Regions from separate parts of the Homo sapiens genome. Here regions 2, 3 and 4 are each linked to region 1. Evidence: promoter capture Hi-C in 16 types of primary human blood cells and fetal thymus (Javierre and others, 2016). All regions are on one chromosome and are shown on one strand. Each heading gives the region's core, a stretch centred on a gene start or on the middle of the fragment in contact. The rest is flanking DNA. Distances are from core to core; before and after follow the strand shown. Region 1 holds the start of FIP1L1 (factor interacting with PAPOLA and CPSF1). Region 2 overlaps SCFD2 (sec1 family domain containing 2). Region 3 overlaps FIP1L1 (factor interacting with PAPOLA and CPSF1). Region 4 overlaps FIP1L1 (factor interacting with PAPOLA and CPSF1).

The links. The method cuts DNA at HindIII sites, captures the fragments that hold promoters and counts their contacts. A CHiCAGO score of 5 or more calls a contact.
Region 2: a contact is called between a fragment that was not itself captured here and the fragment with the promoter of FIP1L1 in region 1, in 1 of 17 cell types (megakaryocytes). The highest score is 6.0, in megakaryocytes.
Region 3: a fragment that was not itself captured here is called in contact with the fragment with the promoter of FIP1L1 in region 1 in 5 of 17 cell types (naive CD8 T cells, naive CD4 T cells, total CD4 T cells and 2 more); the score reaches 5.5 in naive CD8 T cells.
Region 4: a contact is called between a fragment that was not itself captured here and the fragment with the promoter of FIP1L1 in region 1, in 5 of 17 cell types (total CD8 T cells, naive CD8 T cells, naive CD4 T cells and 2 more). The highest score is 6.3, in total CD8 T cells.

What each region holds. Positions count from the first base shown.
Region 1 is chr4:53,376,096-53,379,347 of GRCh38, reverse strand. FIP1L1 (factor interacting with PAPOLA and CPSF1) reads right to left here and starts at 1,707. Exons shown (of 18, transcript NM_030917.4): 1 at 1,425-1,707; 2 at 231-275; 3 at 84-123. The coding sequence starts at 1,509. LOC105377654 (a long non-coding RNA gene) reads left to right here and starts at 1,608. Exons shown (of 3, transcript XR_007058118.1): 1 at 1,608-1,689. RefSeq lists a silencer at 1,130-1,219 and enhancers at 892-1,440, 1,380-1,499, 1,550-1,639, 1,441-1,989. The HindIII fragment of the contact is 4,469 bases long and covers 374-3,252 here.
Region 2 is chr4:53,314,084-53,317,335 of GRCh38, reverse strand. The region is part of intron 2 of SCFD2 (sec1 family domain containing 2); the gene reads left to right. Among named protein-coding and RNA genes, the nearest start is that of SCFD2, 50 kb to the left of the region's middle. The HindIII fragment of the contact is 1,693 bases long and covers 639-2,331 here.
Region 3 is chr4:53,434,663-53,437,914 of GRCh38, reverse strand. All of the region lies in intron 13 of FIP1L1 (factor interacting with PAPOLA and CPSF1), which reads right to left. Among named protein-coding and RNA genes, the nearest start is that of FIP1L1, 59 kb to the right of the region's middle. The HindIII fragment of the contact is 2,246 bases long and covers 408-2,653 here.
Region 4 is chr4:53,418,280-53,421,531 of GRCh38, reverse strand. The region is part of intron 11 of FIP1L1 (factor interacting with PAPOLA and CPSF1); the gene reads right to left. Among named protein-coding and RNA genes, the nearest start is that of FIP1L1, 42 kb to the right of the region's middle. The HindIII fragment of the contact is 2,302 bases long and covers 536-2,837 here.

The sequences.
Region 1 (3,252 bases), core at 458-2,957:
TGTAAGAAAATAATTTTGACAACTGACAGAACCATTGTTTCACACAACCTGTGTAATAGGCATCAACAGAAAATTTCACTAACCTGGCATTTTCTTCTTCTGGCCTTTCAACTTCATTTTCATCTACCAAGTAAAATAAACAAATAAATAAATAAGCAAACAAAATAAAGAAACCACTCTTAAAGAAACTAGTATTATGAAAATCTGAAGTGATCATCACAAGCACTAACCTAGGTCCTTTGCCAAATCACTGTGCACATGCACGTCCCATGGGCCTATAAGCACATCCAAAGTTAGATCACCTTATAATTACTTAACAAGATACTTATTTTATGGAAAAAAAAATCAGACTTTACTGCTATAAAAATAAGCTTAAATTTAAGAGGTAATGAAGATTTCCAGATCTTTGTAAAAGAAATCCTACACATTCACATTTCAAAGAGTAGTAACTAATGCTAAATCTTGCCACCAAACGATTTTTTTTTACAAGTTTATCAAAGTCACATCATCAAGGACCTGCATGGTGCCCAAAGTGCACTTTTACTATTCTATTCTAAAGACAATCAAGAATATATGTTTTAGGCAAGGAACAAACATTAACTTTCAAATCTGGTGTTAACAAGCAAGAAGGGATTGTGACTTAAAGTTAAAAACCAGATGTCAAACAAGTACCCTTCTAGAGAGAAGTACATGATGCATTAAATTTATTTTGAGAAAAACAAATACATGAGATGACACTGAAAACTATAAGCCGAAGGGTCATGAGATACCTCCATGATGTAGGTTAAACGGTAGTCTCTTAAAAAAGAATAACTTCACCTTAATACAGGAGACATTCAGAGTTTTCTTTATGGGCCATCTTTCTCTCTCTCTCTCTTAATTAATTATTTTTAAAGCACGACTTTCAGACAAGGAGGTACCCTTGCAGGTGCATTCCATACAAACTGACCATCAAGAAACAAGACGTTAGTTGTACAGCATTAACTTTATTTAGCTATTATTACAGAATGACTGTTTCTGAAAGAAGGGACAGGAAGGGCACCCTAAGGCCACAGGGCAAAAACAGACACCAAAAACCACCACCTCAGAATCGACAGAAAAAAACAAGGGTAAAGAGCGCAGCAGCTAGGCGATCGAGACGCCTCGGGGAAAGCACAGCGAAGCCGGGGGCCAGGACCGGTCACAGCCCCCCAGCCCGGCCCGGCCGCCACAGGGGTGGATGCGCATGGTGGGCGTGGGCCAGGCGGGAGACCGCCGCGGGGACTGGGGGCACGCGCACGCCGCGCTCGGCCTAAGTCAGGCCGGACAGGACTCCCAACCAGAGGCCCGAAGCGGCGGCGCGAGAGGCCAGGGACGCCGGCCGTTTGAGGGCCAAGAGGGGAGGCCTGAGAGAACCCGAGAGACAGAGACAGGAAGTTTCGTACCGCCATAGAGCCACTCTTCCTCCTCATCCCCTCCGGTCCCGCCGCTCAGCTCCGACACTAGGCGCTCGACCTCGCCGGCCGACATGGCCGCCCCGAGCGCAACTTAAACGCGGCGATCAACAGCCCCCTCCAACCCCTTCCCCAGCCTCGCAGCCCCGAGGCGCGAGAAGGGCGCGAACCCGCCGACGAACGAACGAAGAAAGCTCGAGACTCCAATCCCAGGAAGGCGACGGCAGCGGCGGCAAAGATGAAGCCTCCAGCGCAGGTCCGTCTGCGCATGCGCAGGAGACCCAAGCGGCGCGGCGCGTATAGGTGGCTTCGCTTCCGCGGCGGCCACCTGGGCCTGGTTGCGCCTGCGCGCTGAGGTGGGCCCCGCCCCTCTAGGATCCCGGTTTGCTATTTTGCGTGGCTTCCTCCCGTGGCGTCCTGAGTCGGCCAGGGTTCCCCGCCCCCACCCTTCTTTTTAATAACCCGTATTGCCATTGCTGGCGAGTACACCATTGTTCCCTTCTACTCTTCGTGCTCTTTCTTCTCAACTTTTTATTTGTTTTTTAATCTTCAGAAAGGCCTTCTTTTATTCTTTAATCAGCCTTGATACAGAATCATTACCTGTCACTCCCTTTCCTCACTGAATAGAGAAGAAATCACAATCAGTACTATTTCTCAAAAAATTAATTTTCACAGCCAACAAAAGCAAAACTAATAGATGAAGAATGCACTCTCCTTGTTAAAAACCATAAATTACTGTCAAGGTCAAAGACCGCCTCATTCCCCTACCCTTCTCTCCGGAGGTAGCCCTTGCTACAGATGCATATCCTGTTTGGAGTTCATCATTCCGAAATTTCCTATACACTTACTTCATGTGTTGTGCTGTTTTGGTGGGAGAACCTGAGATTGACAAGTCTTAAATAGTACAGTACAGTATAGTATCATCCTTCGACTTCCTTTTTTTTCTTTTTTTTTAGCATCCGTGTCTTGGAGCTCTTTTTCATTTTAGTATGAATCAAACTATATCTATTTTAAGTGCTTCATAAAATTGCATAGTATGGCTATCACAGAGTGAATATGGCTATTTCTCCATTGATGTACACCCAGATTGCTTTTGACTTTACACTTTTAACTACAACAAAAAATGACAATGAAGATCCACACGGCTCCTTGCAGATTTGTCTGTTTCTCAAAGATAGATCATAAAGTATGTACAGTTTTTATTTTAATAGGTAAACCAAATGTTCAGGCCGCTTCTGAAAGCACATCTTCCAGTGAAAAGATGACATACCATGGTTCAAACTGGAGCTCTAGGTTTGTCTAGGTTTTTTGTTTGTTTGTTTATTTATTTGAGGCGGAGTCTCACTCTGTTGCCCAGCTGGAGTACAGTGGTGCGATCTCTGCTCACTGCAACCTCCACCTCCTGGGCTCAAGCGATTCTTCTGCCTCAGCCTCCCAAGTAGCTGGGATTACAGGCACGCACCACCATGCCCAGCCAATTTTTGTATTTATAGTAGAGAGGGGGTTTCACCATTTTGGCCAGGCTGGTTTTGAACTCCTGACCTCAGGTGATCTGCCCACCTTGGTGTCCCAAAGTGCTGGGCTTACAGGCATGAGCCACCACGCCCGGCCTGTTTTTTTGTTTTGTTTTGTTTTGTTTTGTTTTGTTTTGTTTTGTTTAAAAAACAGTCTTACTCTGTAACCCAGGCTGAAATGCAGTGGCAGGGTCACTGTTCACTGCAGTCTCTACCTCCCAGACTCAAACAGTCCTCCCACTTCAGCCTCCTGAGTACCTGGGACTACAGACAAGCAGGTGCCACCACACCTGGCTAATTTTTTA
Region 2 (3,252 bases), core at 236-2,735, 62 kb after region 1:
AGTGGGTGCAGGAGACAAAAAAAATACCAGTAAGTATGACTTTGACCTTCTTCAGTGCCAATTATTCAGAGAACCTTAATTAACTTGTAAATGTTCCCTTGATAAACTTAAAATGACCATGTGTAATGTGAAGTTAGTATGACGTGTTTAGAAAACTGTTTAGGACAGGAAGCAGGCATTAGGAACTCTCACACATATCTAGACATTCAGAATTTTTTTTTTTTTTTTTGACATGGAGTCTCGTTCTGTTGCCTAGGCTGGAGTGCAGTGGTATGATCTTGGCTCACTGCAACCTCTACCTCCCGGGTTCAAACGATTCTCCTGCCTCAACCTCCTGAGTAGCTGGGATTATAGGCGCACACCACCACTCCCGGTTAATTTCTGAATTTTATTAGGGGCGGGGTTTCTCCATGTTGGTCAGGCTGGTTTCAAACTCCTGACCTTGTGATCTGCCTGCCTTGGCCTCCCAAAATGCTGGAATTACAGGTGTGAGCCACTGCGCCCGGCCCAGAATTGTTTATATCAGCAAAACAATTTTTAAGAAAACATGACCTGAGTATGTATCACTGTTAGAGATCATGGAAACTTTGTATTTCTTCTAAAATATTTTAATAGACAAGAGCCAGATAGTACAAGCTTCAAGTGACTTTAGTACATCTGCACTAATCAAGATTGTATGAATAAGCATACTCAGTGTAATTAAGTAAGTGAATTCATCCAATATATCACAAACTCCTGAACATAGTGAATTAAAGACCATGAATATAAGACAATACCACTTATAACAACAGTAATACTAGTAACAACTACAACCACCACCACACAACTTACATTTATTGTGAATCAGGAAAGTGCTTTAAATGAATTATATTATTTAATCCTACAACAATCCTGTGAATTCACTATTATAACTTCCAACTCCACAGATACCAAAAAGAGAGCATTAATTATGTGCACAGTTACACAATTAACAAGTATCATTTATTCAGTATTTACTGAGTGTACCCACCAGAGATCTGCACTGTTCTAGGTAGTGAAGAATTAGCAATGAGTAAAACAAAGTCCCTGCCTTCATAGAAGGACCCCACCTTTTATGAGAGAGACAGACAACAAATAAACATGGAAACATAATAAGTCAGCTGGTAATTAGAATTATGTAGAACAGTAAAGCCCAGTAAGTAGACAACAGAGTGCTAGCATAAGATGCTGTGATAGGCAATGTCACTTTTTTAAGCAGGGCAGTAAGGGGAGACCTCTCTGATAAGGTGATGTTTTAGCAGATACCTGGAGGGAGAGAGAGATTTGTAGAAAGAGTGTTCCTCTGCTTGGAATACGGGAGAAGAATGGTCTAGGAGGCCATGTATTTGGAGTGGGTGAGGAGGAGCATGGTTGGAGTTCGAACCCAGATTTATCTGACTGCGGAGTCCATAAACCACTACACCAATCTGATGGGGCAACCACAACGTTACCTAACTTACTGTGATTTTAGAGATGAATTAGCCAGATACATATTCTCATGGAAAAGAGGAGGGTAGTGACATTCTACTCTGAAAGTTCTGGGTTGCGTTGAGACTTATGTGAGAAATCCCTGTGTTTTGTGGAGAGATATTGTTGAGACTAGAGAACAATTATGAAGCATAAGTTTGGGAAACTGGGATTGTAACTCCCATGCTCAGAATTCTTCCATGGTTCTTCAATTGCCTGCAGAGCTTTAGAGAAATTAAGTAACTTTCTGAAAGCCTCATAGCAAACAGACCTCCTTTTGAATTATGATAAAGACTGTATTCATAACTGCTGAGCTATGCTGTTCTTCTCAAAGTGTGAAATCAATCACATGCTCCTTGGCTTCCTGTCACCTACATATCAAAGTTGACATGACTTGGCAAGGAATGCAGAACCCCCAGAGTGTGGCTGCACCTTCTTTTATGCTCTCCTTCCACTGCCCCTCCCCGTGCACCTTGGCATGCAACAGAACAGTGCTCCTCAGGGTCATGTTCCTAGGATTTTTTGCATTCTGAAATGTCCTTCTTTCTCTTGTTTTGTAACCAAGATTTTATATCTTTCTTGAAGGCTTTTTTTTTTTTTTTTTGCCATTTTCCTTCCCAGATTGAGTTTTAACTTCTTCCCAGGCTGCTTTTAGAGCTTATGTATCTTTGTACTTGCTCATCATTTCCAGTAGAAATCATTCCTTCAGTCCCTATCCTCCCAGCTAGGATTATGCTTGCATAAACACCTATGCAAGCATTGACCATGGCTTTTATTACCACACTTTTTTAGTAATTTATTTGCTTTTGTATCTGCCTTGTCTTCTAAACTATGCCATTCAAAGCTTTTTAAAAATCTGTATCCCAACCAAATACAGGGCTTGGCATGTAGTTTACCTGCTTACTTAAATTAAACTTAAGAATATTAGATGCAGAGTTATAATGATGACAGATTTGATCAGATTAAAACAAGTGGAGTATGTTGAGCAGTAATATTAGTTCATTATGGAAAGATACATGATAATAAAAACTATTCAATGAAAGATTATAATGTGTCAGGCATTAAACTCAGTGTAAAAATACATCATTCTATTATTCAATATCCAATTCAAATTTGGAAGATATGTCTTATTAGGTATAACTTTAAAACTAAATTAAAATCTTAATAGATGTAACTTTAAAACTAAATTAAAAATGTATTTATTTTTGAACTATTACTAAGTGGATAGTAGGAGAGTGAGTAGGGCTTTAATTGGAGGAAAAAGTCTTTAGAAAGGGACAGAAGTCATCCTTGTTTCTTTGTATTCAGTTTTTAAAACGTTACTACAAATGTGTATACTTGGCTACATGGCAGAGATCTTCCGGAAAGAACACTGCCCTCATTTATAATTTGGACATAGCATGTTGGGTGAGACAGAGGGCTATTGGAGAAGTGAGCCCAGATGAGACCTTGCATATAATGCAGTGCTTCGTGCTGTTATCAACGGTTAATTGTAAAGGTTTTAGTAAGTACCATCCTTCCAACCTAAGGCCCAAAGTGGGATACTTCAGGCCATGGCTACTTAGCATAATTCCTGATTTTCATTTAGTAGGAAGCCTACTAATTAGGAAGTCTGTTGAGTAATTTTTGAATGAAATGCTCATTGCTGATTGCTTTGTTTCTTGGACAAGTATTTAATCTCGAATTGATATAGTGCTTATAATCACTGATAAATCATTTTGAGACTTGCATTTAATTTTGGCTTATATAACATTTATATTACTCTAG
Region 3 (3,252 bases), core at 281-2,780, 59 kb before region 1:
TCTCTACTAAAAATACAAAAAATTAGCCAAGCATGGTGGCATGCACCTGTAGTCCCAGCTACTCAGGAGGCTGAGGCTGGAGAATCGTTTGAACCCAGGAGGCGGAGGTTGCAGTGAGCCGAGGTCGCGCCACTGCACTCCAGCCTGGGCAACAGAGCGAGACTCCATCTCAAAAAAATAAAATAAAATAATAAATAAATAAATAAATAAATAAAAACTACCTTGAACATGCATGAGAATCACCTGGAGAGTCTCTTAAAACACACAGATTGCTGGGCCCTTCCCCTAGAATTTCTGATTCAGTAAGTCTGGGGTGGGACCAGAAAACCTACATTCCCCTAAATTTCCCAGATGATGTTGCTGGCCCAGGACTATACTATGAGGATCACTGGATCCGATTCTAAGCTTCCCTCCTAATTTCACTGCTGAGCAATTTAGTACAGACTAAATAAATCCCATTCCGAATTTTTATGAAACAAAAGCATCTACCTATGACACTTAAAAGGACTATGAGAGCCTACACCATCTGGCATTCTCAAAAGAGAAGATGATTTCTCTCTCTTTTTTTTTTTTTTTTTTTTTTTTTTTGGTTGAGACAGGGTCTCACACTGTTGTGTAGGGTGAGTGGCATGACCACGGCTCACTGCAACCTCTGCCTCCCCAGCTCAAAGCAATCCTCCCACCTCAGCCTCCCAAGTAGCTGGGACTACAGGTGTGTACCACCATGCTCAGCTAATTTTTTGCATTTTTTGTGGAGACAGGGTTTCGCTATGTTGCCCAGGCTGGTCTCAAACTCCTGGGCTCAAGCGATCCACCCGCCTCAGCCTCCCAAAGTGCTGTGATTACAGGTGTGAGCAACCATGCCTGGCCTTAATTTTTGCATTTTTTATAAAGATGGGGTTTCTTCATGTTGCCCAGGCTGGTCTCGAACTCCTGAACTCAAGCAATCTACCCGCCTTGGCCTCTCAAAGTGCTGGGATTACAGGAGTGAGCCACCACACCCAGCTTAATTTTTCCAGCATATAACACATACACTTAAATGTAAAAGTGGGTGGGGGTAAGACCTGAAATCCTATTTTGGAGATTGAAAGAACTGAGGCAAAGAAACAGAAAGGCAGCATTCCTGTTAAACATCATATTAAAAAGAATTTACCCATACTAAAAATTCCCACAAAATTAATAGTGGGCTTTGCACTCACAAAAAAACTAAACAGATTGTCTATAAACTCATTCTCAATGTAGTCTATCATAATTTTATATAACTAAGGCAAAATAGCTTCTGACATGGCTCTCAATGATCCCTGTCTGCTGGTATTTATGTCCTGTGTGGGGGCTGGACATTGTGACTTATTTCTACCACACACAAAAAAAATCAAAGGATGTTACTTCCATGACTAGGTTACAAAAGACAGTTATTTCTATTTCACTGGCACCCTCTCTGTTGCCTTCTTGGCTTACATGCTTTGATTAAGCAAGCTAACATATTAAGACGCCTACACCAGTGAGGAACTGAAGCCCTGTCAATGCAACAGCCTAGAAAAAAACAAAATCCTTTTAACAAAGAGGTGAGTGAGCTTGGAGACAAATACTTCCTTAGTCAGGCTTTTGGAGAAGACTGTGAGGTCTGAGAGAGACCTTAAAGCAGAGGATCCAGCTAAGCTGTCCCAGATTCCTGACCCATGAAAACTGTTCAATAATAAATGTATGTTGTTTTAAGCCACTACATTCTGGAGTAACTTGTTATACGGCAGTAGAAACCCAATACATGCAATAACCATCTATCTTTTCTCTATTCAAATTCACATGAAAGAAAAAAAATGGCAGAATATGTAAACTACGCTTCCTATTTCTCACTAGTAAATTCCAAGTTCCGTCGGCACTATTATTTAAGAAACAGATAAACTTGATCACTTTCCTTAAGTCTCATGACTTGTATTTCAAAGCCATCAAGCTCAGAAGTTTTACTCAAAATGAGTAGAAAAGGACAAGGTTTACAAAAATCTTTAAATATCACCTTCTACCAGAAATGCGTTTCTATGTATCAGGATTTTAAAAATTCAACACAAACAAAAACATACGCACACACACGTGTATCATCTCATCTACCATCCACCCTTAAATACAAACCAGAATGTAGAAAGAATATGGCAAAACCATTATTTCATAATTAAAACAATTACAAGGTGCAAAAAAAGTTTTAAGTTATTTTTAAGAAAAGAAAAAAGGGTTAAAAAGTGGTACGGTCACACAACAAAGTAACCAAAAATTTACCAGCATACTTCATGTCTAAAAGGTAAAAAAGGTAATTTTACATACACTATAAAATGGACAAACTATGTTACCTTTATTAGGATCTGTTACTCTTCTATTTTATAAAATCTAAAGCCTACAGAAGATAAACTTCTATCTTACACAAAACATTTTTGATAGAAATACCTATGTTTTTTAATAGAGAACTTGTAAAGAAATGATCTCTACCAGCTTCCATATAATCATGAGACGATCAAAAGAGCAGTGTAAGCAGAAGGCACAAATTAAACTGTAATTAGATTCAACAAAATGTGGTGTCAATGATGTATTCAAAATGTAACTATTATAAAGGGTGCATCCTGGAGGAGAAAGCACATTCAAAAATCAACATCCTAAGAAAGCTTTTAATCTCTATTAAATTTACATTTAAATAAATTTTAATTGTGCCAGAAAATTCTATTTATTATAGATAATTAGCATTGCTCTCTGTTTTGAATTTAATGAAAACACTGATAGGCAGGCTTTTTAAATTGAATATAGAAAAACACAAGAATAAATACAGTTTTCAAAAACTTTGAGTTCTTTTTTAATGGTAACTCTGGAAAATGCTTACATTTCTGGCAAACAGTGCCAGTTAATTTGAGGTAATCTGTTGAGTAAGACCAAAAATTCATGGTATTATAAAATTAGCTTAATAAACATTATAGTCATAAACTAGTTTCTCAATTAAAGGGATAAAAGTGTACTTCCTCAAGGGCACTGATAATATTCATCCAATACAGGCCAAGCTTCTGCCAAAGCAGTGTTCTCAACGTTCTGTCCAGGAATTCCCGGAGGTCCCTGAGACCCTACTGAATCTGCCAGGTCAAAACTACTTTCATAAATTTACTAAGCTGTGGCCAGGCGCAGCGGCTCACGCCTGTAATCCCAGCACTTTGGGAAGCCGAGGTGGGTGGATCACTTGAGGTCAGGAGTTCAAGACCAGCCTGACCAACATGGAGA
Region 4 (3,252 bases), core at 437-2,936, 42 kb before region 1:
AAACAGTTCTGCATGGAAATTGTGTAGCATCTTTTAAGCTACGTTAGGAAAGAGATGAGCCTTAAAAGACATGTAGGATGGGAAGATAGAACATTTCAGATGGAGGGACAACTATGAGCATAGAGAAAAGATGGAGAGGGGTAGATATGTGCACAATTTCTACGTGGCAAATATATTACCTATCCATTTGCTTGCAACAGAAGTATCATGCACCTTTGATAGTGGTTACCAACCAAAAGACATTCAAAGAGGCAGAAAATGTAAATTAAATGAGAAGCACATAAAGAAAAAGACTGTGAGGCTGTAAAATGCTATACAAATATCAGCTCCCATTGTAACTACATCTATCATTTTACTTCAAAACCGTAGGTGCCTAGCTATCATTTGATTTTAATCTTTATGCCAACCCAGAATCAAGGCTCTAAATCAGTGGTTCTCAACCTTGCCTGCATATCAAAATCCTGATGCACAGGGTGTACACCAGACTATTTAAAATTACATTTCTGGGACCCAGCATCAATACTTTTTTGAAGCTTCCTAGGTAATTCCAATATGGTCAAAGTTGAAGACTACAAATCTAAGGGCATGTTCAAGAGACTGCTAGACATTTTGTTCCCTCCAGAAAGAACTTAAAGTAGCTCATAAAAAATTAATATTTATTTCAAGAAAAATTTAAAGTCATATCCATCAACATAAGAATATCATTGATTACATATTTTTCTACAGATCTTTTAGTTTTGTGGTACTTGAGCCCAGGAATTCGAGATCAGCCCGGGCAACATGACTGGTCTGAAATGGTACTGTTTCTATACCTGTGTGTACGTTTTACTTCCACAAGCACAAGAATAATTTTCTCTACAGTATATACACAATTTATAAAGAAAATATATTCTAATGTTCGAGTAACAATTTATTAATGAAAAATCCCGCCCAGAAAAAGAACCTAGTCTAAAATAAAAATCACAGAATTCAAAACACTTTTCTGGACATACAATTTATTTTCTATCAGTACTACATTTAAAGAGACTGATAAAGCCCATGATGAAAGAGGAGATCCGACACTCACTGAGTGTCTGATTTATCTTTTTTTTTTTTTTTTTTTGAGATGGAGTTTCACTCTTGTTGCCCAGGTTGGAGTGCAATGGCACGATCTCAGCTCACCACAACCTCTGCCTCCTGGATTCAAGCAATTCTCCTGCCTCAGCCTCCCGAGCTGGGATTACGGACGCATGCTACCACGCCCAGCTATTTTTTTTTTAATTTTTTTTTTAGTAGAGACAGGGTTTCTCCATGTTGGTCAGGCTGGTTTTTTTTTTTTTTTTTTTTTTTTTTTTGAGACGGAGTCTTCCTCTGTCGTCCAGGCTGGAGTGCAGTGGCGCGATCTCAGCTCACTGCAAGCTCCGCCTCCCGGGTTCACGCCATTCTCCTGCCTCAGCCTCCTGAGTAGCTGGGACTACAGGCGCTCGCCACCGCGCCCGGCTAATTTTTATTGTATTTTTAGTAGAGACGGGGTTGCACCGTGGTCTCGATCTCCTGACCTCGTGATCCACCCGCCTCGGCCTCCCAAAGTGCTGGGATTACAGGCGTGAGCCACCGCGCCTGGCCTGGTCAGGCTGGTCTTGAACTCCCGACCTCAGGTGATCCGCCCACCTCAGCCTCCCAAAGTTCTGGGATTATAGGCGTGAGCCATTGCGCCTGGCTGATTTATCTTTCAAGCCCTGAAATAGGTGCTTTCACAGCTTAGAATTTATTTAATCCTTACAAGTACATCACATTTAAGGTATATGGGGCCGGCATAGTGGCTCACACCTGTAATCTCAGGTGTGATTTGGGAGTAGGCCGAGGCAGGAGAATCACTTGAGTTCAGGAGATCAAGATCAGCCTGAGCAACATAGTGAGACCTCATCTCTACAAAAAATAAAAAATTAGCCGAGCATGGTGGGCATGCCTGTAGTCCCAGCTACTCGGGAGGCTGAGATGGGAGGACTGCTTGAGCCTGGTAGTTCGAGTTTGCAGGGAGCTATGATCCCACCACTACACTCAACCTGGGAAACAGAGTGAGACTCTGTCTTGAAAAAATAAAAAGTAAAGTACATATCCAATTAGTTTCATTTTCACAGATGTGGAAAGAGGCTCTTTTGCATTGTAAAGTGGCAGCACTAGGATTCAGGCTTAGCATAACCAACTTCAAACCCCTTCCCTTCTTCTTCAACAGTGTTTATCATACTAATTTTCTGGGGTCTGAATTTTTTAAATGTCAATTTTTAAGCTCTATTTAAAACAAAACAAAAAAACCTTGAATGTTTAAAGGTGAAATAAGCCCAAATTTCACTCACTGGAGGACATAAGTGTGTTCAAAAGTGCAAACAAGTTTACTCACTTTTGTACAGAGCTTGGAATAAAGCTCTACCTTCCATATTTATGCTTAATTTCATGCTTTTAAATGTATCAATGATAGGAAAAGACACAGCTCTACAAGAATCTTAAAAAAACAAACAAAAAACCCCAAAGGCCTTCATATGTCCAATAACATAAAATCTTACAAACTACACACTATAGCAACATGCATTCAGAGCACTTGATCAAATGCCCCAAGGTATGGGCACATCTTTTCAGTACAGTGTCTCATCAAGACATAAAAGGAGATAGTCAGAGGAAGAGGTCATTCTTAGATATAATATTCATTTAACGTCCAGTTTTATTATAAGTATTGTGTTTAATAGAAGAAATACATGCATGTTTAAATGTATTCGTGATTTAACATTGAAAAGCAATTTTTACTATTCATTCAAGAGTATGAATCAGTTAAAAAGCATTGTAATATAGGAACATAAGCTTAAGAAAAATAAACTATCACTTGAAAATTAAGAGGAACAGAACTTGGTAACATAAAATGGAAACAAAATAAAAAAATAAACTGTGCATTAGGATATGTTTACAGCAATCATCCATATTACCAGTTTCAATTTCCTGCACTCACTGAAACTGCTTCACTCTTCTAATTAGTTTCACAAGAGTTAAAAATTTGATTTTATAAAGCAAACTTACACCAATAAAATGCCACTGTTATACATATAGATTTAGCTTGAAGAATACTGTTAAAGTTTGAAAAACACTTACAGATTTGGCTTGAAGAATACTGTTAAAATCGGGAAAACACTGTATTATACAAATTAATAGTAACTAGCATATGATAAGGCCACAACTTCAAATATAATAACTGTTATTTATGTATTTATTTATTTATTTAGA